Regions from separate parts of the Homo sapiens genome. Here all the other regions are linked to region 5. Evidence: promoter capture Hi-C in 16 types of primary human blood cells and fetal thymus (Javierre and others, 2016). All regions are on one chromosome and are shown on one strand. The core of a region is centred on a gene start or on the middle of the fragment in contact, and the rest is flanking DNA. Distances in the headings are between cores, read along the strand shown. Region 1 overlaps ELMO1 (engulfment and cell motility 1). Region 2 overlaps ELMO1 (engulfment and cell motility 1). Region 3 overlaps ELMO1 (engulfment and cell motility 1). Region 4 overlaps ELMO1 (engulfment and cell motility 1). Region 5 holds the start of ANLN (anillin, actin binding protein). Region 6 overlaps ELMO1 (engulfment and cell motility 1). Region 7 overlaps ELMO1 (engulfment and cell motility 1).

What was found. Contacts are between HindIII fragments. The CHiCAGO score rates a contact against its expected background, and 5 or more counts as called.
Region 1: a contact is called between a fragment that was not itself captured here and the fragment with the promoter of ANLN in region 5, in 5 of 17 cell types (total CD8 T cells, fetal thymus, naive CD8 T cells and 2 more). The highest score is 9.1, in total CD8 T cells.
Region 2: a fragment that was not itself captured here is called in contact with the fragment with the promoter of ANLN in region 5 in 1 of 17 cell types (naive CD8 T cells); the score reaches 5.1 in naive CD8 T cells.
Region 3: a fragment that was not itself captured here is called in contact with the fragment with the promoter of ANLN in region 5 in 1 of 17 cell types (naive CD8 T cells); the score reaches 5.2 in naive CD8 T cells.
Region 4: a contact is called between a fragment that was not itself captured here and the fragment with the promoter of ANLN in region 5, in 2 of 17 cell types (naive CD8 T cells and total CD4 T cells). The highest score is 6.3, in naive CD8 T cells.
Region 6: a contact is called between a fragment that was not itself captured here and the fragment with the promoter of ANLN in region 5, in 1 of 17 cell types (total CD4 T cells). The highest score is 6.6, in total CD4 T cells.
Region 7: a contact is called between a fragment that was not itself captured here and the fragment with the promoter of ANLN in region 5, in 2 of 17 cell types (naive CD8 T cells and total CD8 T cells). The highest score is 7.0, in naive CD8 T cells.

Annotation. Positions count from the first base shown.
Region 1 is chr7:37,183,584-37,186,809 of GRCh38, forward strand. The region is part of intron 13 of ELMO1 (engulfment and cell motility 1); the gene reads right to left. Among named protein-coding and RNA genes, the nearest start is that of ELMO1-AS1, 190 kb to the left of the region's middle. The HindIII fragment of the contact is 199 bases long and covers 1,745-1,943 here.
Region 2 is chr7:37,201,456-37,204,450 of GRCh38, forward strand. The region is part of intron 13 of ELMO1 (engulfment and cell motility 1); the gene reads right to left. Among named protein-coding and RNA genes, the nearest start is that of ELMO1-AS1, 210 kb to the left of the region's middle. RefSeq lists an enhancer at 2,563-2,995. The HindIII fragment of the contact is 2,965 bases long and covers 136-2,995 here.
Region 3 is chr7:37,243,753-37,246,651 of GRCh38, forward strand. ELMO1 (engulfment and cell motility 1) reads right to left here. Exons shown (of 22, transcript NM_014800.11): 7 at 604-639. Among named protein-coding and RNA genes, the nearest start is that of ELMO1, 200 kb to the right of the region's middle. The HindIII fragment of the contact is 3,776 bases long and covers 1-2,899 here.
Region 4 is chr7:37,218,457-37,221,629 of GRCh38, forward strand. All of the region lies in intron 10 of ELMO1 (engulfment and cell motility 1), which reads right to left. Among named protein-coding and RNA genes, the nearest start is that of ELMO1-AS1, 220 kb to the left of the region's middle. The HindIII fragment of the contact is 1,761 bases long and covers 741-2,501 here.
Region 5 is chr7:36,387,826-36,391,177 of GRCh38, forward strand. It overlaps ANLN (anillin, actin binding protein), which reads left to right and starts at 2,037. Exons shown (of 24, transcript NM_018685.5): 1 at 2,037-2,219. The coding sequence starts at 2,202. It also overlaps a transcript of MATCAP2 not described here. RefSeq lists enhancers at 1,682-2,272, 2,273-2,863 and a silencer at 1,682-2,091. The HindIII fragment of the contact is 7,726 bases long and covers 1-3,352 here.
Region 6 is chr7:37,347,383-37,350,535 of GRCh38, forward strand. All of the region lies in intron 1 of ELMO1 (engulfment and cell motility 1), which reads right to left. Among named protein-coding and RNA genes, the nearest start is that of ELMO1, 100 kb to the right of the region's middle. The HindIII fragment of the contact is 4,249 bases long and covers 1-3,153 here.
Region 7 is chr7:37,366,761-37,370,110 of GRCh38, forward strand. All of the region lies in intron 1 of ELMO1 (engulfment and cell motility 1), which reads right to left. Among named protein-coding and RNA genes, the nearest start is that of ELMO1, 80 kb to the right of the region's middle. The HindIII fragment of the contact is 961 bases long and covers 1,268-2,228 here.

The DNA of each region.
Region 1 (3,226 bases), core at 594-3,093, 800 kb after region 5:
AACTGGAATTTTCTCTATAAAGCACAACAGCACAGATGTGCTCACAGCAGGACAGAAGTAGCAGGAAAGAGGGAAGGGCCATAGTCTATGTCCCCCACCTCCCTCAACTTTCTCACTTCACTAAGTATATTCCAGACTTTTTTTTTCTCAAGGCCAAAGAGAATAAGGTTTAGAAGATGAAAAGGTGGATAGAATTGTCCTATCTGCTTCGATTTCACTGGTAAACGTATAATAAAATAAAGGCAAAATACCTTATCTTTACCCTTATATAATAATAATAGCTTACATTTATAAAAGATCTATTATATATTGTTACATACAACTTCAGAAATTTTATTTTTTGTTTCTAGAATTTCCATTTGGTTGCTTCCTACTGTTTTCCATTTCTCTACCAACACCTCTAATTTCTCTGCTAAGATTCTCATTCATTGAAAACATGGTTTGTTTTTCTCATTGGGGATAGTTATCACAGTCGTTTTGAACCTTTTGTCTGTTAGTTTCAACATCTGGTTCATCTGAGAGCTGGAGTTGATTTTCTTTTGTCCTCATTCTCCATGATCTGGGAATTTTGGATTCTTTTCCAGATATTATGAATGTTAGGTGGTGAAGATTCTGGATTCTGTTTTTTCTCCAATGAGTGTTGCTTCCTTTGTTTTAGCAGATAGTTCTCTTGTCTGTGCACAAACTGCAAACTGTTTCCAGGGCTACAAGTCTGGTCTTAGTGAGATCTTCTGTCCATAGCTAGGTTGCTTTGAGTAGGCTCCATGCATGTGTGGTTCAGAGTCAGAGATGTGGGGAGACACGGTTTAGGGGCACCCTCTCTGGCTACCTTTGTGTTCTGGCTCCAGGCACTAATGCAACAACTGAAGACACTTGTTGATATGGGCTCCTGTAATTGCTCTACACGGTCAAGGCCAAAAGTGAATACGTTGACTGAAAAGCCATACTTTCCAGAGGATAAAATTATTGCAAGCCAAGGATTAAAACATCCATTTAAATCAAACTGCTTTGGCTGAAACCTTTTACTATGTTTATGAAGTCCGTCATGGCATGATGGCTCACACCTATAATCCTAGCACTTTGGAAGGCAGAGGTGGGCAGATCACTTGAGCCTGGGAGTTTGAGATTGGCCTGGGTAATATAGCAAAACCCCATCTCTACCCCCCAAAAAAGACAAAAATTAGCCCTGGTGTGGTGGCATGTTACTCAGGAGGCTGAGGTGGGAGGATCACTTGACCCCAGGAAGGTGAGTCTGCAGTAAGCCATGATCATGCCACTGCACGCCAGCTGGGACAAAAAGTGAGACCCCGTCTCAAAAGAAAAAAAAAAGTCCATCACGAATTACTTCATTGCTATCCTTTTTTCTCTTGTTCTACATATTTGACTAATCTTCATATCTATGAAATAGGAAGTCATAATTTATAATGAGTCTGTCTATTATAACTAGACGGACAAATAGAGTATAGGCTAATGTAAAATATTTTGCATTTCCTCTCTCATCACGTCATTAAAAACTGTCTTAAAGAGCGGAGTTATTCTGAATCAAATATGATAGCCTAAATGCAAAGGATCGACAGATTAAGTTGAATTTGTGGTCAATCTTTATTCTTAGCAGAGCAGCAGCTAGCTAGAGTTTTAAATTAGAAACTGCTTCTATGCTTTTCAAAGATATTACAATAGAATTTGATACTGAGCCCAGAATATTTAATAGGGAGGTCTAAGTAGTATCATTTATAGAAATGAAAGCTTTAATATTACTCATTCTTTCCATTTACTACTTGTTAAAAATAACATTGTATTTTAATTTTCATAAAGTAAATGAATAGTCCTGAAAAAATAATAAATGAGTATTTATGTGATAACTGAGTTCCAAACAAAGGTCCACTTTCTGGGCAGGGGCTTGTAGTGGGCATGGTAAACCCACTCAGATCACCCTAGATTCAAGCTTTTGTTGGAGAAACAGCACTGTATATATATACATACCATATATATAACGTGGAAGGACCACATAACCCTAGATGTGACTGATTGTGCCAACATGGTTACATGGCTCAAGCCAGACAAGATTTTTGATCCAGAAAATTTGAAGTACTCTTCTTAGGGATCATTTATATAGGTCTACTTATAATAGCATACAAAAGAATGAAATAGGAATAAATTTAAAAGATAAAGTACAAAATTTATATTCTGAAAACTGCTACACAACACTGTAGAAAGAAATTAAAGATGACCTAAATAAATCAATGGGTATCCCATGTTCATGAATTAGAAGGCTTTATCTTGTTAAGCTGGGATGGCAATGCTCCTCCTAAATTGATCTACAGATTCAATACAATCCCTATCAGTAACTCCGCTGACTTCTGCGTAGAAATCAACAAGACAATCCTGAAATTCATGTGGAAATTCAAGACACCCTCCATAGCCAAAATAATCTTGAAAACTAACAAATTTGGAGGACACACACTTTCTGATTTCAAAACTTACTACAAAGTTTCCATAATCAAGACAGCGTGGACTTGACATAAGAATAAACATATAGCAATGGAACAGGATTAAGAATCCAGAAATAAGCCTTCACATTTATAGTCAATTGATTTTTGACAAAAGTGTCAAGAAAATTCAATGAAGAGAGAACAGTTTTCAGCAAATAATGCTAGGAAAACTAGATATCCACATGCAAAAATGAAGTTGGACCCCTTCCTTATGCCATACACAATTAACTCAAAATGGATCAAAGAACTAAATATAAGGGTGAAAATTATAAAACTATTAGAAGAAAATGTAGGTATACATCTTCATGACCTGGAATTGAACAATGATTTCTTAGTTATGACACCAAAGGCATAAGCAATAAAAATAAAAAACAAACTAGATATATATCAAAATAAAAATCAAATTTAAAAACTTTCACGCTTCAAAAGACACTCTCAAGAAAGTGGGAAGGCAATCCACAGAATGTGAGAAGTTGCAAATCATGTCTGATAAGGACTTGTATCTAGAACATACAGAACTATTACAACTCAATGATTAAAAGATGAACAGCCCAATTAACAAACAAGCAAAGGATCTGAACAGACATTTCCCCAAAGAAGTTATAAAAATGACCAATAAGCACAAGAAAAGATGCTCAAATATTATTAGCCATCTGGTAAATGCAACTCAATACCACAATGAGATACCACTTCCCTCCCATTCCCTCCCATCAGCAAAAAGTCAGATAATAACA
Region 2 (2,995 bases), core at 368-2,867, 810 kb after region 5:
AACTGGGAATGAGAGTTGGGAGACTCAGGTCCTGGGAAAAAGCCCATCTGCCATGAACATCAGGCAAATCCCATTTAATAGGGGGGCCAGTTGCACATCCAACAATGCTTCTAGTTCCTACCGGGTCCTGATGAAAGCTTTAGAGCCCTCTAAGGAGACCCCAAGAACCCCTGTCTTGGCCTTTAAACTTTAAACAACTTCAAACGTTTCAGGCTTATAAGCAGGGTTGCAACGTAACAGAATGTCCCAGCAGCTGGTCAGCCAGAGTTCAGGGGACTGGCTGAGAGCCAATGGCTGTGTGTTTGCGCCATCTGGTGGCTATTTCTGCTCTGGTTCACTAAGGAATTTCCTGGCTTGTTGGGGCCAGGGATGCCTCAGAAGTTATTAGAACTGAGGTCTGCAGCATTTCAGATAGGAAAAGAGAGAGTCCGGTCTGATCAAAGTGTCAAGGAGGCTGACAGTGTAAGATCTGGTCCCTGAGGAACAGGCACATCTCTGTGAGTTCATGCAGCCTGAACCATCCCAGGTAATCCCTTTACCCATGTCCCCCAAGGATCCTTCAGGTGAAAGGGGCTGACTGGGTCTGGTGGACTGGCTAGGACTGGCAGAGCTTCCCTGCAGAGCACCCCGGGACCTCCTGCATTCTATATAGCTATAACTGTATAAGATTTCAGTAAATGTGTGTTTTTAAATATACTGTTATTTTACTTTTAGGTTTATGGGTTAAATCTAAAATGTATTTGAAAGCAAAGTACTTGTTTCAGAATACTATCCCAGTTATTAATAAGGGATATAGGGAAAAGTGATTCGATTGACAAAAACCTGCATTATCTTGTGCTTTCCAGAGATGCTCTGTGGCAAAAAGAGAATACCACAAAAATTAAGTGAATGTCAAAATTTAATTTCTCCAATTCCCATAAATGTATTCTAGATTCTTACTAATGCTGTCCTTGTACTCCAAGAGACTGCACCACATTCTTAGTGATGAAAGCCTATGATAAAATCACACTGGGATCGGTGCTGAAATATAAGGCAAGTCCACCATAGACTGGCTTCTCTTCACCTAGAATGATTTTTCTGAGAATTCACCAGGTTTTGGGGATGCGGTATTTTGGTATAGCAGCCATTTCAAGGCAGTTTCTGGCTTTAAAATAAATGAATTGAAACACAGTAAGTTATAATACTTCCCCTGTGAATTCCAACATGGTACTACTGAGCAGTACTGAATGATCTGTAGAAATTATTTAGCTTTTCCTTCTTACTGTAATTTATACTTCCCTCAGGTGGCCATTTTTCCCCATCAGAGAGAGAATATGGGGCCAGGCCATAGTGCAGGAAAAAAATGAGCCACCTCTTTTTCAGGGTTTGTGGGTCAAATTGGTCCCAATGGCTTAGGATGTATTTCAAGGGTGAGCCTGTTGATGTCTCAGTGTTTTCCATCTGAAAGACAAAACCGCCCATGGTTTTGGTTTGTTTCTCCCCCTCCCCAAGAACCCACAACTGTCCCTGGACCCTGCTGATCGGAATAGTTGTGCTCACTAATGCAGTAGCAGAAACAACCCCTCCCCAAGAACCCACAACGGTCCCTGGACCCTGCTGATCAGAATAGTTGCACTCACTGATGCAGCAGCAGAAACACTAGTTTTCCTCCCAGACCACAAGGAGGACCAAGAAGGTCAGATTTAGTGGCCTTTATTGACACATTCTCGAAAACCTGGACCCTTGCCTGTCCTCCTAGACCACAAAGAGGACTGAGCAAAATTGTATTTAATGGCCCTTACTGACACATTCTCGAAAACCTGTTAGAGTCTTAAGCATTCTCCCGTTAGTATTGGGACCTTACCCATGTCCTATAAAGATGTTATGCCCGAAAAATGAAGTGGAGGGTCGTACCCTGAGGGAGGGAAGGGATCTCCAGAGTTGGAAGAGTGATGTCTTTTGTCCTCACTTATATGAATAGGAAGGATACAATTTCTGAGGCTCACCATATCCTAGCTTCAGGAATAGCTTTTGTTAGGCCTGATTGTCTGAGGAGGGATCCTAAAATTCCAGATAGTCCCCCTACAATGGGGCTTTGGGCAAAAATTACATCTTTCTGATTGGTGAGCCCGGGCACCTAAAGAAGGTAACAGAGTCCTGGAGTTTATACTAGAAATAATTCTTATAGGAGAAACTAGAAAAGCACCAGAGACAGGGAGTGGTTTTTTAGAAGTGGGACTAGCCTCAGAGAAGAGAGGCGAGAGGAAGTTTGTCTGGCAGGCATTAGGACCCAGGCGGCAAGGGTCAGAATAGATAGGATAGATGGGCGAGTCTGCTTGGACGACATGCCTTTGAGAGTTCTGCTCATGGCTGCAGGGTCAACCAACTTGTTGTTGGGATCCCAGAGCTGAATGGCTTTCCTCTCTGTCGACCCTCGGCTCAGCCCAGAAGTACAGGAAAAGCAGAAGCTGGTTCCAGGCAAACCAACGCTCCCAACTCCGAAGAGTCAGGGATTGTTAGAGAGCCCTTTCCCAGAAAGCCTGACACGTGTGTCTTTAGTCTGGCAGCCACGCTAGTCGCTTTTAACTGGCCAACAGGTGCCCAGTATTTAGCCCCCGAATTCTAAGGAAAAATAGGACAGAATAGCAAGCAAAAGGGGTCCGACGGTACTCACCATTTGGCAATAGGCATTAGTCTCACCGCCTGGCGATGGGCGATGGTCCCATCTGGGTGGCCAAAATGTGTCTGGAATTGGTGGGTTCTTGGTCTTGCTGACTTCAAGAATGAAGCCATGGACCCTCACAGTGAGTGTTACAGTTCTTAAAGATGGTGTGTCCAGAGTTTGTTCCTTCTGATGTTCGGACATGTCCAGAGTTTCTTCCTTCTGGTGGGTTCGTGGTCTCGCTGACTTCAAGAGTGAAGCTGCAGACCTTCGCGGTGAGTGTTACAGTTCATAAAGGCGGCATGTCTGGAGTTGTTCATTCCTCCTGGTGGGTTCCTGGTCTCGGTGACTTCA
Region 3 (2,899 bases), core at 383-2,882, 860 kb after region 5:
TCAAACAGTTTGTTAGAACCATATTTGGACTCACCCTGTTTAATGGTTAAGAAAGAAACTTAGAAGGGAAAACTCTAAGAAAGAAGGTTTCTATCTTCAGACACAATCATACAATTCACTTCATAGATAGGTGATCGAGCACTTTCTCAGACTCAAAGTAAATAATTTTCATTGCATCCTTCAATCCTGGATACTTTTAAAAATGTGAATCCGTTTTCTTTCTAAGCCACTGAAGAAAATCAAAGACTTTTGACTTTGAACATCACACAGGCCACATAAAAGTTAGTTTTGTTTAAAATAATACATAAAATTATGCTTAGCACTGCTCCAGAAGTAGGGTAGCAATCTTTCTGTGGTTACAGCATCACTTAGTGGTTACATACATAAAATATTCTTTCTACTCCAAAGCAAAAAAAGGGGGGAAAATACATTTTTGAAGAAGTTGTTTATAAAAGAACATCAAATAGAAAACAAAAATAACAAAAAATCACTTATTCAAAATACTAGATGCATAGTTATACAATCAGTCAGATGACAGGGCTCAATTATGCAGGAAAGTAGGAAGGGTTAAATCATCAATATCAATCGATCAAATATTCTTACCAAGGCTTCATGATCTTCTGCAATTTCTGGTATCGCCTGCAAAATTTAAAAACAACCATGTGAGGAGCATACTTAAAAGCAACAATTTTTACACAAAGAACATATCTTGAAGAAAACTCAGGATTAGATTTAGGACAGATTTAACTGCCATGAAGTAAAAGAATTTTATCCATTTCAAGACATCATTCAAAGTAATAAACTGGTGTTCTTTAATGATCAGAAACAAACAATCAAAAGATCAGCATTAAACTACTGTCATTAACCAGTTGCATTTGCTTATGAGTAAAGGCATCCAAAACCGTCCATTTAGATCAGAATGGGTCTGTGTTCAATGGAGCGGGGTGGGGTACCCATAGGGATAGGAATTGATACATTTTAAATGAAAAAACATTGAGACAAAAACCACTAGACTATAAAGAAATATTTTATTATCTTTCTTTGGTAGAATGTCCACTAATTTTACTTTCTCTTTTCTCTCTCAGGTGGCTTCTTCTGTGGGAAGATGCTGCAATCAATCTCTTTGCAATAAGACATTGCACTAGTGTTAAATCCCAAAACTGAACTCTGGGCTGGTGGCTTAGAATAGGCAAATCTGGCTATAATAAAGGATACTTATGCTTTTTTAAAAAAACTAGGCTCAAGAATATGAAGAAACAAGTGTTTCAAAACTGGCCAAACCATCTCTCATTCCTCAAGTCTGCCAAATCTCTCTGGCTTTAAGTATGATCTTCCCTCTTTATGAAACATCCATCCCCTCTTTGCCCAACTCGCTAAGTCCTACCCCCAAACTCATCTCATTCTAGGCTCATTCTGGGGTCCTCTAGGAAGTCTCTCTGACTTCTGATTTCTCTTCCTCAGACAGCATAGATGGTGCCTGCATCGCAGGCCACAGGCCCTGAGGACACATCAGCTATAAGCCTCAGGACATCTCACTGTCCTTCTAGCTGCTTGAGGGCTAGGACTCTGCACTGTGACAATAGCGTAATGTGAGGCACATCCAGAGTAGGGACTGAATACACGGTTGACAAACGATTTTGCTCTTCAGAAATTTTCACATTCTCAACCACATAAAATGTAACCATTTCAGAAATCCAAATCACCAGGCAAAGACTAAATTTAGTCTCTGGTAAAATTTGTGGGAGGGGGATTAAAAATGCATATAAAGAGATATTTTTATTCCTCTTCTGCTCCCCCTCCTTTACCTGCCTTTCTTTTAAAAAATATTTACTATTTCCCATCCTTCCTTCATCAAAAAGGCATTGGGCAGGGTGAAAGGGTGAGACGGGGAGGCAGGCCTGAGCATAAATTGGCAGCACGCAAGGGCCAGAGGCTACTCTCCACTAAAAGGAACCAGGGCTCCTTGGGGAAGTGGCTCGTATTAGGGGTGGGGCAAGGAGATCTAGATAGTTCTGGAACATCTTGTTGAGCCAGAAAGTAAAGAAATGCTCAAAACATAACGCAATACAGGTCAAAAGGACACAGAAGTCAGCTTGAAAGAGCTCCCACAGGCCACATCAGGGACACGCTGAGCATCAAAATCAATAATAATAGTGATAGATTAAACCCACTGAATAAAACAGGAATGAATTAGTCCACATTGTTATAGAGTGATGTGCTGATGTTGAAACACCAGATCTCTGGGGAAAAACACACGAATCTGCTTGATATTATTTTCCGATTTCCACAGTGTAACGACTCTCACTATGGCCAACTTAAAGAACCAACATGAGGTCAATGAACGCAGAGCAGAACAGAGTTGTACAAAAGTGGCTCTCAGGAGCTGGTATGAGCTCCCCACTGGAGATAAACATGTAGGTGAATAAATACGTAGGGAAAAAACAGAGCTCTTACTACCAAAGAAAACCAACTAATACATGTAGAAGAAATCATAGTATTAGAAAATTTTCCTTTGGAAATCATCAGAGCAATAATTAATTCAGATAAGAAATGTCAATGCCAAAACTGATGGGTGAAATTGGGGTAATGAGGCTTTACATAGTTTCACTGTGTCTCCCTACAAACTTTTCATGAATTAGCTGCTAAGGTAGGGAGAAAGTATTATAGTGGAGACATCTGGAAGATGCTATCTTAATGAAGTGGTCAAAGTTATAACCAGTAATAAAACAAAGAGATACCATGTGCCATCAACAGGACGAAATGGGGGAAAAAAAATCACAACCATCTGTTATATTCCAGCCAAAGACATACAATATGGGTCTTCATAAAGAGAAATTTTTGTTGTAATGTTTGTTGTGATGAGAGAACACTGGATAAATCTGTAAAAAACAAAATCTTG
Region 4 (3,173 bases), core at 371-2,870, 830 kb after region 5:
ATACTACCCTCCTAAGGAACAGCAGCTTGGTCAAAGAGAAAATAGAAATATCCATGCCTCCATTTTTTGGTCTAATAGTAAGGAATTATTGGAGTAAATGTGAGAATCCATGGGGAATATTTTATAGCATTAAAATTATGTAAAAGTATAGATAGCTACAAATATGAATCCAGATATACTGACATGGAAAGATGTCCACAAAATATTGTTTAGTTTTAAAAGAAGTTTAGAAAAACTACAATGCATGTAGTATGCTCACATTTGGTGAAAAAAAATGATGTATTAGGAGAATATTTGCACAGAACAAACAGGGAAGTAGCACCATGAAAGTCACAAGAGTTGTAAATAATTGCCGTGGTTCTGCCTCTGGGAATATAATTACAGGAATCTTTCAAACTTCTTCCTTTTGAGTCAGTATTTTCTGATTTTTCTACCAAATCTTTTAACTAACAAGTTTTTTAAATAGTGCTTATCAAAAGTATAAGTATTTGTAGAGAAATTTGGAAGGGATCTCACCAACATATTTGCCATTGAAATAGTGAACTGAATAATGGTAAAAGTTGTAAGCAAAAGGATCCATTTGCCCGCCTAACAGCAACCTCCTCCCCGACAAAACTAGCCCAGCCCTTCCCTCCGTTTGTGCCAGGAAACTGAGAATCTCCTACATCCCAGAGGCATGGGAAAGCAAGGCCTCCACCCCTGGGGGAACCCTAGAAGGGAAGGGAGTTCCCAGAGGAGGAAGCTTTACCCTAGGCCCCAGCACAGGCCTCTCTCAGTAAGGCCTACCTCACAGATGCAAAGGAAAAAACAGCACAGGTCCTTCTGACCATGGTGGCATTTTTTTCAGTAACAGCAGAAATAAGGTATAAGTGTTTAAAAGCATTCCAAATTCAAAGAAACCCCAGATAATGGAGTCCTGTGAATGTGTCTGGCCCCAAGTCAAAAAAAGATGAAATTTTAAAAAAGTATTTGACTGAAGTGGAATCAGGCTACTCCAAACAAAGCAATGGTTCTAAGGCTTTAAACAGATACAACAAAAAACAAACAAAAAATAGTGTTCCTGCAAATCCAGTAAATACATGTTTAGATTATATTTCAATCTAATTGGAGTGAGAAAATGGGCTTGGTGCTATCCAGGCTTCGGGGAGTTGTTTACTTGGCAAATACAGGAGAATTCTATGAGTGACATCTCTGACAGGCGTTGGATGGGATGCTTTGCAGGTAAAAGCAGGGATAAGGTTGAGACTCGAACTCTGATTCTTACCCGCTCAGTAACCTGGTCAAGTTCTTTACTCCCTTTGAGGCTCAATTTCCTTACTTATAAAACAGAAATAATGTGGCTTTCTCTGAATATGAGAATAAAATGAAATAATGTAATATAAAACACTGAACACTGCTTGGCACATGCCAGACTCTCAATAATATTATCATTGATGGCTGACTTTGGTCAATTTTCCTATTTGCCAAAAATTCAGAACTTTTAATTTTTCAGAACATACGCCAATAACAATGCCAACGTCAAATTCAGACCAGCTGAAACTTTATTTTACTTAGAACATAGAGCCCAGACTAAGGCATACAAGCTCAGCTGTTAATATAAATCCACAGCAACCCACATGATGTCACCAGTTAGCTCAGTCTTCTGCTTTACAGGCCTCTACTGACCTTCAGAAAATAATATCCAACAAACTTTTCTTCATTATGAATCTGAAATCCCTTTTTAGAGCTATCTCGCTACTCACTGAAATTTTTTTAAATTTAAAAATCATGATACTCCCTTTATTTTGATGAACAACATTCTTAATTTCAAGAGTTTATAGTTTATGAAGTCCACATCACTTTTCCATGGGCAAGTAAATTAAATACCTTGTAGGTATTTTTTAGAGCTTGAATGAATGAGTCATATAATACTTCATAAATTTCTGCTGAATTATATACAGTCTTTCTTAGTTGGAATCTTTTCTTAAATGGTTTAAGGTTATTAGACTACTCTTTGTCATGGTTTATTACTCTTTGTGGTGGTTTATTAGAATAATATATAGCCAAACTGTCTCCTGTCAGTCTTATGTTGCATAGTTTTCAAAGAAAGACTTGATTCACAAAATCCAAACCTAATCTTATATCGACATTCCATTATATTACCATTATTATCAATGTCCTGAAGTTAGTACAGATTGACACCTGATTCCCTATTTGTCCATGGTCATGAGAGTCCAATTTAACAAATGAACAGTAGTGTTTGGTATAAAATAAGATGCAGTAAGCATTTTACTCATGTCTAGATTCAGAGATCCAAGTGAAATGGCCTTTAGAGTGGGCATGAACTTTCACCTCCTCTAATCCATCCTCTTCTTTCACAGATGGGGAAAGGAAACTTCCAAGAGTTGAGATCAGAATGCAACCTTCCTGACCCCACACGCTACACTCAGCTACCATGTGGCTGGGCCAGAAGTCCCCAGTCTGGCCAGCAGAAGGACCCCGTTGCTCCAATGCCCAAGTCAAGCTTGGGTATGTACACGGTGAGAGCTTCCAGACAACTTCCGGGCTGCTTGGGAGTTATGAGTTCGGTATTTAGACTAAAATATCACAGAAGCAGCCCTATCGATGATTTCACCTCAGATCTGCAAAGCCACTCCTAAAAATCCAGCCACGGTAAGACTGCCCCTAGCACAGGCTTGTGGAGGGCAGGCACCTCCACCTGGCTCCAGCGAACACCAAATCAAACGTCCAGGAAACTATAAAGTGACACCACTACTTGTGCAAACACAGCCCCCCAGGGATGAATAAGAAATTCTAAATGGAAAACAAACCAGAACCCCTCATGTTTAGTCACTGAGGTTTAAAATCCTTGGCAATGAAAAAGCAAAATAAAATCCAAAAATTCTTGTCATAGCATTCAGTAGCAGGTTCGCTTTCTAATTTCTTCTAAACGAACTCACTGGCAACTGCCATCAAGCTCCCCAGCATAGTTTCTAGGTGAGTGAAAGAGCTCATATTCCCACCCACTTTTTTAAGGAAGGAAATTGTGACCAGGGTAACATATTACATGACATGTTGATTGAAAAAAACATGAATGGATTTTGAGGTGTGACCTAAATTCCAAGACAAGGCAAAATTCCACTTCTTCACATCCCCTCTGTAATGCTCCTTTCCTTCGTGAAGAAAGAAATAAA
Region 5 (3,352 bases), core at 787-3,286:
GGCACAACGGCTACATAAATTTCTAATGACTCATTTTCCAACGTTGTTTAAAACACGCATACACACACAGACACGCCCCAAATACATACACACCTTTCTTGTCACACTTGAAAAAAATGGAAGTATCTTTTTCCTTTGTTCATAAGTAACACATTCTGGGTTAAATATTAATAATTCCATATACTACACACTCGGACAGTGTCTTATTACTTATTATGAAATATTTTTGGATTATGTCTCTCCATTTTTCATCTGCCCCTCCTAACAACTCTGAGGAAATCAGGGCAGATGATTATTCCTGTTACACAGATAAGTAAACTAAAATACAAACAGGCTAAATCAGAAGTTCTTGTCCTGGTGTCCATGAACTTCACAAAATCCTGTTAAATAGTTTATGATTAAATGGTCATTTTTCTAGGTAGAGGGTCAGTTTTAACATATTTCCAAAGGAGTCCATGACTCCCCACAAAGGTTAAAAAAAAAAAAAACCCATGGGTTAACCGATTTGGCTAACTGGGTGGAGCCCTGACCCCAAGCAATATTTCCCTTACCTCTTGCCGTGATTTCAGTCACGTACAATTTATCATACAAAAATTCAAATTAAAAATATTAGTAAATTCTTTTTGTAATGTTGATTGACTGCTAAGATGGACATATTATTAAACATATTGAAACCACTCAGTTGGGAGGAATAGTTCTGTTTTGTTCAGCTCATGGACAGTCACTCTTAACTTTTCAGATGAACAAATCAAGAACTGTCATCTTTACCTGCACAGACTTGTTATAGAAGAAATGAATCTGATACAGAAATTATGTAACCTATCTTACAATTTGGAGTACTCTACAAAGAATAAGCAGGAGACACAGCCTTAGCTAGTGTGGAAAACGGGTCATGAGCTGAGAACAGGGTTTTCATTTCTTTGGACCAGTTTCTTTAACGTTTTCGGGTGTCCCTTCTCTCGGCAGTAAAAGGAAGGATTGAACTAGATAGAGGGCTTGTCAGAATTCCTCCCGCTCTAACACTGTACACAGTTGGATGGAATTTAAAATAAAAAATTGTGCATGAACGCTTCACACAGTCTGTTAATTTTAGCTTTATTTCATTGGCTTAGAGTGTCGGGGACCCACCGGAACTGGCTTTTCTGAGGGCCAGGCCTGCAGTCCCCCTTTTGGGGACTAGGAGTTGGGTGTGACCTAGGAAACAAAGCTACTGAAGGCCAACGGGCTAGCAGCACCTGAAACACAAGGGCTCTTTGTCTGGCTCTGTAGCCCAGGCTGGAATGCAGTGGTGTGATCTCTGCTCACTGCAACCTCCACCTCCCGGGTCCCAGTTCAAGCAATTCTCCTGCCTCAGCCTCCCGAGTAGCTGGGATTAGAGGCACGCGCCACCATGCCTATCTAATTTTTTTGTATTTTTAGTAGAGACGGGGTTTCACCATGTTGGCAAGGCTGGTCTTGAACTCCTGACCTCGTGATCTGCCCGCCTCGGCCTCCCACAGTGCTGGGATTATGTCCTGCCAACACAAGGGCTCTTAATCCTTTTTTTTTCTTTTTTGAGGCAGGGTCTCACTCTGCCGCCCAGGCTGGAGTGCAGTAGTGAGATCGCAGCTCACTGCAGCCATGACCTCCTGGGCTCAAGCGATCCTCCAGCCTCAGCCTCCCCAAATGCTGGGATTATAAGCATGCGCCACTACTCCCGGCCTTAATACTTTATTTAGGAATGAAGGAAGGCGGGAACACCCAAACGCGGTTGGTGTGAAGCAATCGCCTTAAAGCTGAGGGGAATGTGTGGTTGTTGGGGGTGGAGCCAGGAACCCGACGCCGTTGGAGAGCAGGAAGCGCCCCGCTGCCCGCCTCCACCCCGCGGCGAGGGCTGGGAGGGGGCCGGGAAGGAGGCGGGGCCGCCCCTGGGAACCACCCGGCCCGGCGCGGCCACGTGACCGAGCGCAGGGGCGGGGAGAGGGCGCCCCGGCTCCGCCCAGCGCGCATGCTCGCGGCTCGGCGCTGAAATTCAAATTTGAACGGCTGCAGAGGCCGAGTCCGTCACTGGAAGCCGAGAGGAGAGGACAGCTGGTTGTGGGAGAGTTCCCCCGCCTCAGACTCCTGGTTTTTTCCAGGAGACACACTGAGCTGAGACTCACTTTTCTCTTCCTGAATTTGAACCACCGTTTCCATCGTCTCGTAGTCCGACGCCTGGGGCGATGGATCCGTTTACGGAGGTGAGTGAGTTTGCGGGTGCAGCCAGCCATGACCCACCGCTCTAGGCCCCCACCCACCTTCCTCTGTCAACCTCTGGGCGAACCCCCACCGGGCGGAGGGCGCGTGTGTGCGCGCGTGCGCAGTGTGTGCGGGCCGGGGTCGCCGCGGCTGCGGCCTGCTGTGGTTGGTGGGTTCCTCTGAGATTTTGTTGTTTCGGTCCTACAGATAAAACTCAGGGAGGAAGGCTTTGAGTCTGTCCTAAAAGGCTGTTGCGAGAGGTCTTTCAGCCCCCGTTTTTACCATGTCCCTCTGCAGTCCTGGCGCAGCAAGAGTGAGGCGCAGGCCTGCGGAACGGGTCCTGCTGGAAGCAGCTGGAATGCCCTGCAGGGCGGGGTCCGGGGCCGGTGACTCAGTGCGGCTGCCGCCGGGAAAGGCAGTAGGATGTGTGATTTGCGGAGTTCACGCAGCCCGCAGGGGAGATGCTAATGAAATGACAGCAAAACGTTAAAATAAGCAGGTGCTAGAAACCACTGCATTCGTTCATAAAAAGCCAGTAGTTCCTTGAGATCCCATTGTTCAGCTAACTAACGAAGAAGTTCATACCCGGGACTGACCATTTTAATTGAAACAATGCAAGTGTACCGAGCAAAACTATCAGCTCACGATTTTAGAGCAAAGAAATAAACTTTTCGGTGTTTCTGGGGCATATCATTACAGTACTTATTTCATCTTTTGTTCCTTTGAGATTGCATATGGGTTACATGGTTATTGTGTCGATTTCTCTAGTTTTAGCTTTTGTGGAGAATGTGCGTTGTCACATTCAGGAGTGTTTTGTTGCCAGTTGTCCACTCTCTTTTATTCCAGGACAGTTCCTCTTTCTTTAGGCTGTTGTGCAAATTTCAAACTGTTAGTTTTTGAGTGTTGCAAAGTGGACCTAAAACTGTTTACACTGATTCAAAAACTTAAATGCTGTGAAGAGTGGTAATTCTTTCGGGGAGATGTAATTATAATTCTATAAGTTATGTATGAGATATTAATTACAGATTTCAGCAATTAGAGTTTACTTATATTCAAGCATGACATAATCTATTTTTCTGTTTCAAATTCTTAATCATCTTGGGACAAATACATCAATTTTTTTCACCTTCCTTAA
Region 6 (3,153 bases), core at 337-2,836, 960 kb after region 5:
CCTCTAGAGGTCAACAGTCCCTTCCCCTCAGTCTCGACAAATTTTCACATGTTGTAGAAGGGACCCGGTGGGAGATAACTGAATTACAGGGGAAGTTTTCCCCCATACTATTCTTACGGTACTATTCTTATGGTATTCTTATTCTTATTCTTATTCTTATAATGAATAAGCCTCAAGAGATCTGATGGCTTTATAAGGGGAACACCCTCTCACTTGGTTCTCATTCTCTCCTGTCTGCCGCCATGTAAGAGCCTTCTGCCATGATGGTGAGGCCTCCCATCCACATGAAACTGAGTCCATGTAAACCCTTTTTTTCCTTTATAAATTACCCAATCTCCCGTATGTCTTTATTAGCAGCATGCAAACGGACTAATACAGGCGGTAAGCTAGCAAATCCTCTAGGCAGATTACCGATGATCAGGGCAACCTATCCCATCCTTGAACTGGACACAAGGCACATGGTCTCATCAGGCTCTCCAGGAAAGATCAGCACACAAGCCCAACTCCTCTTGGTGAGGCATAACTGAGAAGGAAATACATTCTAAAATCTTCAGCCAACAAAGTCAGCATCCTGGTGTCCTATGCTTCCCCCAGCATAACTCTGGGGTTACTAGACTCCCTTTGTCAACTTCTCCCCACTACATCTGGAGTACTCTAAGGGCAAGGTCCACATCGCATTCACAGTTACAGACTCAGGGCCGCGGCAGGCAGGCATTTTAATACATAGCTGTTGTATGAATGCATCCCCTCCTCAATGAACATCTCATTAGAGCTACCAGCAGTACTGAGCCTAGTGTTATCAAAATTACCAAAGTAGATAACCTAGTATTACTTAAATTGCCCAGTAAAATACCAGCTACAAGAAGTTGTGTAGACAGCCGGGTACAATAATTCTTATACAAACTAAAATTTAAGAACCATTAAAGGGAGAAACAAAAGGGAAGTCTAGGCAGGTGGCTAGACATTCTAATCATCATGCCTTCCAAAGTCACTATCAAATCCCAGGTGGTGGGTAAAGAATGGGCAGAGAATGCTATACCGTTCCTGCTTGCCTGCTGGCTTGACTTTATTCCATTCCAAAAATATGGGAATTGTTCCATGTTTAATATTAAGATTCTATCACCTCGATATGCATGTTAAGTGGTGTGTTTATAGTTGAGTGGATTAAATAAAGAGGAATCACTTCTTCTAGAGTTAGGTACTGAAGTCTGTATAGCAGTAACATCTGACTCTATAACCCGTGAACAAGCCCACTCTTCCACTAAATGTCTCCGTAGGTTGGGTGGCATTTTGAAGACGACAGACAGAAATCGCTTTGACTCCCACCTAGAAACTCATCTCTCTACACATTGTTCTATGCCCCAAGTTCAACATGCCTCTTGCTGTAGTCTCTTAAAGATCTGTTACATCTCTACAGGTTTTTCCATACAGCTTAATTAATTCTTTCGGTTCCACAAAGGTCCCAAATACCTGATCACTTTTTGTTGTTTTTTCTGAATTTCCCATATAGTTTTTTAGTTTTGGGTGACTGCAATGGCTTTGAACCTTTTAATGCTCTTTGTAGTCTTTCTGTTGCACAGTAAACCCTACTGAGAAAAAAATTAAGCCTGTATGGCCATTCCTGTAGAAGCTGTGTGTTGGGGAAACGAACACACTTGCCCTGGTGAACCGTGTGTCCCCTCCCCTACTGCACTCACAAGCCCAACAGATGGGCCAGTGGAGGCCAGGGCAGATCAATGGGAGAGAAACACCAAACAGCTGGAGAAACGATCTGCTTCCACTCCTCAGCCCCTTCCTTCCTCACCAGAAAAGCTGTCCTCTGTCCCGCTAAGTCATTATCTACTGATGATGGATAATGGGTTTATAATGATGATGGGGATAGTGGAAAGGGAGCTGTTCATCTCATATTTTTAATGTTGAGTTGTCTCTGATAGAAAAAGACATAGACCACATTTTCCCCTTGCATTAGGTTAGGCAGAAAGGGAAAGGGCTTCAGGAGGATCACCCACTGAAAGCAGCCCTTCCCTCTTGGCACTGCTGTCTTCCTGGAGCCCTCTAGTCTTCACTTTTTTTTTCTTTTTCTTTTTTTGAGATGAAGTCTCACTCTGTCACCCAGGCTGGAGTGCAGTGGCACAATCTCAGCTCACTGTAACCTCCGCCCCCCGGGTTCAAGTGATTCTCCTGCCTCAGCCTCCCGAGTAGTTGGGATTACAAGCAGGCACCACCTTGCGTGGCTAATTTTTGTATTTTTAGTAGAGATGGGGTTTCACCATGTTGGCCAGGCTGGTCTCGAACTCCTGACCTCAGGTGATCTGCCCACCTCGGCCTCCCCAAGTGCTGGGATTATAGGCGTGAGCCACCACACCTGGCCTAGTCTTCACTTTTGAGAACACCGCCCTGCATGGTACACTGAACCTCAGAAGGGGCCACCGAAATAGGCTTTGGGTAAAAGTTTTGCTCTTCTCTTCTTTGTGCTACCATCCTTCTTATGCCAAACAGACTGAAATTGTCTCAATACCTTTAGTGTCTAGGTCAAGGAATACATGAAGTCGGTGGTGTGGTCAGCTGACATTATTCAGGATGTATGAGTGTCCAGGTTTGCTGAAGCCAGTCTTTGTTTCCCATGGGAGCAGCAGTGGTGGGCACATGTCCCCCCACCTGCCCTACACTGGAGGGTCTGGATGGATGGGTATATGGTGGGGGTGTCATTTCAGGTTCCCGTATCAGGGACCTGATGGCCATTCTGAAGACAGCCCGGGGCCTAAGAGGAAGTTTGTGGCTTCAGAAATGAGGGAACACGGTGTGTTCAGAACAGAACATGCAAGCACTCAGCAGAAAGAGAATAAACAGAGAATGGAATCCAGTGTGGAGGCTCAGTATTTCATTTTCTGTACACGCTAGCCATGTATGCTAATCTCAGCAACAATTCAGCCCATTTACTTGACAGGTGGGGAAATGTGCTATTAGCTACGGTTGGCTTGCAATATAATGGAAACTTGCAGAGAAAAGTCTTTGCTTTCCCAGTGTCTGGCATTGACATCATGAAGGCTAGGGGACAGCTGCCAGAAGGAGTGGCAGACAGGCGCCTAGAGCAGGCATGGGGCTGGGCACCGTGGACACGCACTTTACTCACTCTTCTTCACAGCCCTGAGT
Region 7 (3,350 bases), core at 498-2,997, 980 kb after region 5:
CGAACTCCTCTAACGGAGAAAGAGAGATTCTTTATTCATTTCAAAAATATTAACAAGAAGCTTCTTCCCATCAATCACTGAGTTTGGAGATTCTGAGACAAGAGCGAAGCCCAGGATGCGTTCTTATTCCCAGAAATCAGATAACAGACTGATGAATTCTTTGAGAAAGTAAACAAAGATATTATGTGCTACTAAAATATACTTACATAGTTTCATCACATCAATAAAAGCAAAATCTCTCTAATGAGAATGTTGCAAGCCCAGCATTTCCTGGCCTCTGTCTCTTTCTCTGTCCCCTACCAGTTTCTCCTGTCTTGCTCTCTGGTGACCACACCTGACTTCTTCAAGTTCCCCAGACACACCACACTGTCATTCATCTGCTGTTCCTGAACTTCCCGCAGCTGACTTTCTCACTGTATTTGGGACTCAGACCAAAGGTCATCTCCTCAGGGAAGCCTTTCCTAGGTAACCTAATGCCAGTAAAATTGGCACACACACATTCCCAGTAATCCCTCCCTCTCTTTCTCTCTCCCACTCACTCCTTTACTCACCGCATCACTACCTTGCAATGTTACACACCGGTCTATGTGTTTATTGTCCTAATTCCACTCTGGAGTGTAAACTCTATGAGGGCAGGGATGTTTTCTTCACCATTTTACCTGTGGTCACATAGTATGCTATCAATGAATATCTGGCAAGTGAATAAGTGAATGAAGGAAGAAAAGGATCAGAATGGAAGGGCACCATTGATTTCTTAGTTACTTTAAGAAAATTCTTCAGGAGTACAGTGAAAAATAACAGGCTACAGGTACAATTCACTAAGTGTGTGACATGGAAGACTAGAGAAGACTAAGGAAGAAAGAATAGGTTAATTAAGCATAGTGCAAATTGAATATCACCCGTGTGTGGTAGGAAAAACTGGTGGGCATAAGACCAGCCACAGTTATGGAATCAGAATCCTCTAAGTCCCTACCAGAAACAAACAAACAAACAAACAAACAAAAGACACTGGAAACAATAACCCAAATGAGGTAATTTGCATGAAATTATTTTATAGCATATAAAGCAATCAGAAAATAAGTATATAATAAGCATATATTACCTCCTCCTATCTTTCCCTCCCCACTAATATCCATGGCAGACATCGAAAACAATCACGGATAATAAATGTAACTCCTTTCTGCTATCGCCAAACAGGACCAATACACAAGTCAATCATAATTTTTTAAAGCATCTTAGGAACGTAGGCAAATTAGGAATGGCAGAAAGCTTCCTTCCTAAAGGATATCTACAGAAAGTCTATAGCAATCATCATGCTCAACTGTGAGCCATCAAACTTTTCCTTTAAAATCAAAAACAAGGCAAGGAAGTCAAATATCACTGCCTCTATTCAATATTGTACTGGAAATCTCATTCTAAACATTTTAAGAAGGGGGGTGGCAAATTTTTCATTATTCAGATGATATTATTGTCTATCAGAAACTATTAGGATTAATAAGGCTTTATCAAGGTTTCTGAGTATAAATCAATATATTAAAGTGATTAGCATTTCTATACACCAGGAACAAAGCATCAGAAAGAACTATGTCTTAAATATACATTTCATGATAATAATAAAACAAGAAGATAGTGTTGGAGTGCAGAAAATGATTCATCACAATACGGAGCTTTGGCATGCTAAGTGCTTTGAAAAGTGAAAAGCCTCAGAAATAAGCCTCAGAACCAAGGTTTCTCTCTGACCTGCTTCCACCTCCCTGTCTCTGATCTTCTTTCCCAAAGAACCGGGAGGGACTCTCTTTGGAATTTCTTAAGACCCCACTCCCTAGGAATCTCATCAAATAGCCCAAAAAGATCAACCACCCAGGAAAAGAAGATCACCACATCTGGACAGGCTTTTCATCTATTCTCCTAAGGGCAACTCTCATAGATTACCTGGGAGGCTTTATCTGCATAAGATGACCTTTGCTCACAGTGAAGTTCCATCCCTCACCTTCCTGACACCTCCCTCAGAGCTCAGGGGAACTTTGTTACTTATTTGCACATTCTCTGTCTCCTCTCTCCCACATATAGAAGGGTATATAAGCATCTGGACTACATTGGGCTATTGGTAAATCATTCTCATGTGATTCCCTGCATTGTGCACATTAAATACATTGTATGCCTTTCTCTCCTTTTCATTGGCCTTTTGTCAGTATATTTTCAGCAAACCTTCAGGAGATGAAGGGAGAAGCTTTCCCTCTCGGCATTTTACAAGATATTTCTGTATAAAGCAATAAAAGTTATTGAAAAACATTAAAGAACACCAAAATAAACGGATAAACATATAAAGTTTAAGATTAAGAGAGCCCAATATTATAAAGATGTCAACAAGGTTATGTAACATTTATAGTCTGGAGGACTTTCACTCATATGGAAGCTTGATATGTGCCAAAAGTGACAGTGCAGACCAGTGGCTGGGGGAGATGGAAGGGATGAAAATCCCTCATCTGAAATACTTGGGACCAGAAGTGTTTCAGATTTCAGATTCTTTCAGGTTTTGTAGTATTTGCATTATACCTACTGGCTGAGCATCCCTAATCCAAAAATCTGAAATCTGAAATGCTTCCATGAGCGTTTCCTTTGAGTGTCATGTCGGCACTCAAAAAGCTTTGCATCTTGAAGCATTTCAAATTTTGGATTTTCAGATTAGGGATACTCAACCTGTATTTAATAAGTGGCATGGGGACAATGTAGGGGGCAAAATGAAATCAGCCTCTACTTTACAATCCACATTAAACAAAACAATTCCAGAGATTAACTATTTGAATGAAAAAGAAAAACAGACATCTCAGAAAATCTTAGGATACAAGAATATCCTAATAACCAACGGGTAAGAAGGATTTCTTAAGCAAGCTATATATAGCCCAAAATGTAAAAAAAAAAAAAAAGAGACTGACCAATCCATCTACAATATAATTAAGAATTTCTGCTTATCCAAAGGTTTGATAAGAAAAAATATAACAAAAAAATTTTAATAAAAAAATAGAAACCACATATTGAGAGAAGATATCTTCAATGGTGGGGCTCAGAAAACGCCCTGAAATATGGTGCTTTGACATGCTGAACTAATGAAGCAGCCTCAAGGTCTCCCTCTGACGTCTCCCTACTCCTTCTGATCCTCCTTACTATTCGAAGCACCAGGACTGGCTCTCTCTTTAAGTTCCCTTATCTGATTGAGAAAACTTCTAAAAGAAATGCAATTGCCTCAAAACTCCTTCCCTAGGAATCTCATTAAATAACCAGGAAACATTAACCACCAGAGAAGAGACTAGAAGTCTCTATGCTCAGGACACCACGCCCAGTCAGCCTCC